Regions from separate parts of the Homo sapiens genome. Here region 1 is linked to region 2. The links are contacts of gene promoters, found by promoter capture Hi-C in human tissues and cell types (Jung and others, 2019). All regions are on one chromosome and are shown on one strand. Each heading gives the region's core, a stretch centred on a gene start or on the middle of the fragment in contact. The rest is flanking DNA. Distances are from core to core; before and after follow the strand shown.

Region 1 (2,700 bases), core at 185-2,684, 250 kb after region 2:
CAGATAAACGGTACGACTGGTCCGTTTTCTCACTGCTATAATGAACTGCCCAAGACTGGGTAATTTATAAGAGGTTTAATTGACTCACAGTTCAGCATGGCTGGGGAGCCCTCAGGAAACTTACAAGCATGACAGGAGGGGAAGGGGAAGCAAGGCACCTTCTTCACAAGGTGGCAGGAAAGAGAAGTGCCGAGCAAAGGGGGAAGAGCCCCTTATAAATCTAACACATCTTGTGAGAATGCACTCACTATCACTGAGAACAGGATGGGGGAACCACCCCCATGATTCAATTATCTCCACCTCATCTCTCCTTGACACCTGGGGATTGTGAGTCAAGATGAGGTGTGGGTGTGGACACAAAGCCTATCCATATCACAAAGGGTGCTAGGGGGCGTCCATTTTCTTCTTACCAATCTACAATATTTAATTTTTTCATAATAAACATACATTTCATTTCATATTTAAAATGTTCCATATTTATTTATTTAGAGACAGGGTCTCACTATGTTGCCCAGGCAGGAGTGTAGTGGTGCAATCAAAGCTCACTGCAGCCTCGAACTCCTGGGCTCAAGCGATCCTCCTGCCTCAGCCTACTGAGTACCTGGGGCCACAGGTGCACACAGCATAGACTGCATGCATTACTGTTTAGCGTGGTGGCTCACGCCTGTAGTTCTAGCACTTTGGGAGGCAAGGCAGGTGGATTACTTAAGGTCAAGAGTTTGAGACCAGCCTGGCCAACATGGCAAAACCCCTCTCTACTAAAAATACAAAAAAGAAATTAGCTGGGCGTGGTGGTGGGCGCCTGTAATCCCAAGTACCTGGGAAGCTGTGGCAGGAGAACTGCTTGAACCAGGGAGGCGGAGATTGCAGTGAGCCAAGATCGTGCCATTGCACATCACCCTAGGTGACAGAGCGAGACTCCATCTCAAAAATAAATAGACTTCGAGCTGTCTGATGCATGTGGATCTTTAGATTTGAGACCCTCCTGCTGCCAGCCTCTCCCTCCTACCTGGACAACACCCCCTTCACAAGTTCCTGGTCTAAAAGGTGGTCTCCACTCCAGCCTCCCCCTTCAGCTGACCCTGTGGCTTCCTGTGAGCAAGCTGATCCCCAAACCTGCATCCCATCGCTCCTGCCAGCTCCACCCACCTCTGCCTCCCATCCTCATTGTACTGACCTGTCTCCAGATGCCCCAAAGCTGTCCCTGACACACGGACCATGCCCCTTCCTCTCTGTGTGCCAATTAGCTCCTTTGCTGGACACCAGGAAGCAGTACATGCCCATGTCAGTATTTCCCTTACGTTAATAAAAACCCAAACAAGAAAACTTCTCAATCCCACTTCCCATACTGGTGACTGTCCTTTGCTCTCCCTGGCAGTGAAACCCCCCGAAAGAGTCATGCAGCTTGCTGATGTGAGCTCACCCCCCATTCTCCTCTGTGAGCTCACCCCCCATTCTCCTCTGTGAGCTCACTCTCGGCAGCCGCTTATCTACTACTCAGCCAGGCTCATCAAAGCTCCCAACACCCCTGAGCTGCTGAAGGCAAAGCCTCCTCTCCTGACTCACCAGGGAGCTCCTTTCTTGCCTGCCTTCCAGGGCGCTATGCTCCTGCCCCTCCTCCCCAGCTCCTGCCTCCCAGTGCTCTCCACCTCATTCCCCCAAGGTGGGGTTCTCCTCAGCCATCCCCTCCAGGATGGACAACTCGGCCTCTCACCAGGCCTCAAGCACCACCCCAACACCATCTGTACCATGTGCCTCTCCCAAGCAATGCGCTCACCCCGGGTGGTGCCTCTGCACTAGCACATCGCCGACAGATCCCCAGCCTTCCAGCCTGGCCTGGACACCCTGGAGTCTGCCTGCCTCTTCTCTCGATCACACCACACACTCAACCCCCTCACTACTGCACAGCCATCTCTACTCTCTACCCTAGTCTCCTTTTCCAGCTCCGAGCCCAGCAGCCAGAGTGATCGTCTCACAGCCCCGGCACAGCCATCTCCCTTCAGCACCTTTCAGAAGCCCTCATCTCACTTCCAACCATAGATTCAGCTTCCAAGGGCCCCTCCCACCTCTACCCCAGCAGGCCACCCTGCTTATCACTCTCTGTGTGGGGAACAGGCTGCTGCCTCTGTCTGAACAATCTCCTCCAGACACCCCCAGAGCTGCTCTGCCAATTGACACCTTCTCTCCCCTCTCAGGACTCGACCCACCAGGGCACTCCAAGCTTCTCTACCCGTTCCGCTGGGGTGGCCCACCTCCCCTGCTGCAGCAGTCTCCCCGATGCAGGGAGCCCTTCTCCATTCTCCATGAACTCCAGGGCCTGGCAATTCACAGGTGTTCTCTAAACATGAGAGAATGGATGCCGTGAGAGCATCGCACAGTGAATCAGGTCAGTGCTACCAAGGGCTTGGCCACCCAAACACAACAGCTCTCGCTCCCCGCTCAGCTCTGAAGGGCCCAGGGCCAGCCTCCCATGCCCACAGCTGGGGGCCTGGGAGAGACATGGCATGGAAGTACAAAATCCCCAGTGGCCCTGGGCCAGCCCACCCGTGGGCTTATGCCCGTCAGACTATTTCCTCATGGCTGAAGGAGAAGAAAATAGAGATTTTAAAACACAGTAAGGCTGGAAGCGGTGGCTCACACCTTAATCCCAGCACTCTGGGAGGCCAAGGCGGGTGGATGACCTGAGGTCAGGAGTTTGAG
Region 2 (2,700 bases), core at 160-2,659:
AAATAAAGCCAACACATCAAGCCTGCAATTTCGCAGATACTAACACTTCGGACCAGGAAAAAAGAAGCCCATGACATGGCACAGCGCTGTGGAGCGAGCGAGATCTGGGATGCGTAGGCCTGGACGGCTGAGGCTTGGAAACCCCTCCCCTCCCCAAACTTTCCCACCATGCAGGGGCCCAGCAGGCCCTCAGCCCACTCACCCCGCCAGAGGAGGGAGGAGGGAGGAGGGTCCGGGCCAGGTGGGAGCTTCTCCCCGGAGGCCTGAGGCAGCTTCCCTCCTCTCCCAGGAAGGGGCTGGCCCAGGCCCAGCTAGGATGCTCCCAGCCCAGCTCCTACCCGCCGGGTCTTTCCCGTTTGTCAGGCAGGCCGGCAGGCTGGGCTGGTGACTCATGACTGGCTGGGCCATCTGCCCTGCACCCCTGCCCCGGGCGAAGTGAGAAACCTGACCGGGCTCCAGCACAGACAGGAAACCCCACCCCAGGGCCTGCAGTGGGACAGGTGTGGCCGCCCTCCACCCCCACACAGGCCTCGGGGAGGGTGTCTGAGGCCGGCCTGGCCCTCTCTGCAGCACTGAAACACCAGCTGCCTCTCCCCAGCCCGGAACTGGGGATCCAGTGTCCTCCGCACTGACCCCAGGCTCTGCTCTCCCTGGGAAGCACCCGCTTTGACAGTGGGGCCAAGGACTGGGGTTCCCACCCTCCTCTGCCCAGTGGACTTTGTGGCCCCAGGCAGGTGGCATCAGCTCTCTGGGCCTAAGCTTCTCATCTCTGCAGGGTTCATCAGCTCAACAAGCATTTGTGGGTTCCTGAGACCTGAAGGCTCCACTCCCCCACCTAAGCACACAACAGTCCAGGCACCACCCACATCTCCCTCTTACCTGGAGCAGAGGGGCGGGTGTTCGGAGCCTTGGGGCCCAGGGTCATTTGCACTGGAGGGGGCCAGGAACGCTCCCAGGAGTGTGGCAGTCCCTTCCTAGGGGGCCCCTCCTGGAGCAGCTGCCTTGAGAGCCCAGCCTACAGCAGAGCCTGGTGGGGTGGCCGGGCTACTGCTACCTGGCTTCACTGCTTTCTTCTGCCATTCCTCCCAGGCTACCCAGGAGGACGAGAGGGGCAGGGTACTGGCGGCAGCAAGAGAGAACCCGCCCAGGAGGGCCCAGCACGGGAACTCCAGCCTCCAGAGCCAGCAGAGCCACGGGAACAGGAGTTCCTCCTCACAGAGGAGGCGCTGTTGGAGGGCCAGGAGCAAACTCCCAGCAGAGCAAAATGCAGAGGTGACCAGCCCAGGGCACACCAGCCACTGAAAAACCCAACAGTGGGGGCTGCCGTGGGGATCCAGGGTTGGGGGACTCTCAGACGGCCCCCCAGGCTTGTCCCCATGCGTATTCTTTGAGCTGATGGGGACGCAGTGTTCACAGTCCTGACAGGAGGCAGGCGTGACCCCAGTCGGGGAGTGGACTTGGCCCTCTTCACACCCCCAGGGCAGAAAGCCCTGTTCAGAGGTACCAGGGAGCAGGCACAGGCCAGGGTCCGAATTCGTAACAAGCATCCGGGACTCCACATGACGCAGGTCTGAGAATCGATCCCGGGTTCCAGCCCAGCCATCATTTTCAGAGAATACGGGCCCTGTCCCGAGCCGCCAGCCATTGCCAATGGCTGCCCGGAGGAAGGGAGGAAGGGGTGCCCCCAGCTTGTGGAACCAACAAGGGCTTAATGGTAGGGCACGCCCAGGGGCAGACGCCAAGAAAGGAGAGGAGGGGGCGGGGGCTCCGGCCAGGGAAGCCGTGTCCTCTGCACCAGGCAGAACAGGGGGCTGGGCCGCCCTCAGCCTGGATCTGGCCAGGGCTGGGATGCCAGCTCTGAGAACAGGGCCCAGCCCTCACCTGCTTGGTTTGCCTCTTGCCAGGGGAAGGGGCTCAGGAAGGTTTCTGAGCTGCCCCATGCCCCTGCCTGGAGTTCCTGACCCTCGGGGGAAGCTGAGGCTACAGAGAGCACGAAGTGCAAAAGGCCTGGTGGTTGGACCCAGAGCCCCTGTCCCTGGGTCCCCGCTCCTCCCCACCACCCCGTCCCAGCTCTCCCACGCTCCCACGAGGCCACATCATCTTCTGCTCCTGCTGAGTTCCCCTTCACGCATATGAAAAGCAAATTACAGGAGGGAGAAGGCAAACCCGGGGTGAACGGGGGCCTCCTGGGACTCCTTGGACCCCCGGGAGAGCCTGTGAGGGCTTCTATGGGCCGACTGGGATCTCAGGAGCAAAATAGGGGCCCCTAGCCCACAGCGGAGGGCGACTCTAATCAGCAGAGATCGCCCAGCATGCCTTATCCTCAGCAGCTCAGGGCCACCTGTGGGGCAGGGGGAGGGGGCCTGGCCAGCTGGGTCGGCCGCCCCCGGCAAAGCCAGGGGACGCCAGGAGCGGAGCTGTGTGGTGCAGAGCAACTGTGTCCCAGGGGAGGGGGGGTCTGTCTCCGCTCCTCCCAGCTGCAGGCCCTGGGCAGCCGCAACCTCTCAGAGCCTGCCTGCCCCTCTCCTGAGGTCTGGATTTTGCCAGCACAGAGCAGGGACCTCAGCAATATGCCCAGCCTGGCGCAGGCCCAGGGCAGGCCCTCTATCCGCAGGGCATCCTCTGGTCTACAAGTTCTGTGACGACGTGGCTGGCACCAGGGTCTGAGGGCTTTGATGCTGGGGAACGTCCTTGCGCCTC

Evidence for each region. The method cuts DNA at HindIII sites, captures the fragments that hold promoters and counts their contacts. A contact is called where the count stands out against the background at its distance.
Region 1: a contact is called between a fragment that was not itself captured here and the fragment with the promoter of TMEM105 in region 2, in 2 of the 25 tissues and cell types used here (aorta and spleen).

Annotation. Positions count from the first base shown.
Region 1 is chr17:81,578,451-81,581,150 of GRCh38, forward strand. All of the region lies in intron 12 of NPLOC4 (NPL4 homolog, ubiquitin recognition factor), which reads right to left. Among named protein-coding and RNA genes, the nearest start is that of FAAP100, 27 kb to the left of the region's middle. The HindIII fragment of the contact is 4,699 bases long and covers 1-2,700 here.
Region 2 is chr17:81,329,265-81,331,964 of GRCh38, forward strand. TMEM105 (TMEM105 long non-coding RNA) reads right to left here and starts at 1,410. Exons shown (of 3, transcript NR_165247.1): 1 at 880-1,410. RefSeq lists enhancers at 1-322, 323-892, 2,036-2,606, 2,607-2,700. The HindIII fragment of the contact is 14,660 bases long and covers 1-2,700 here.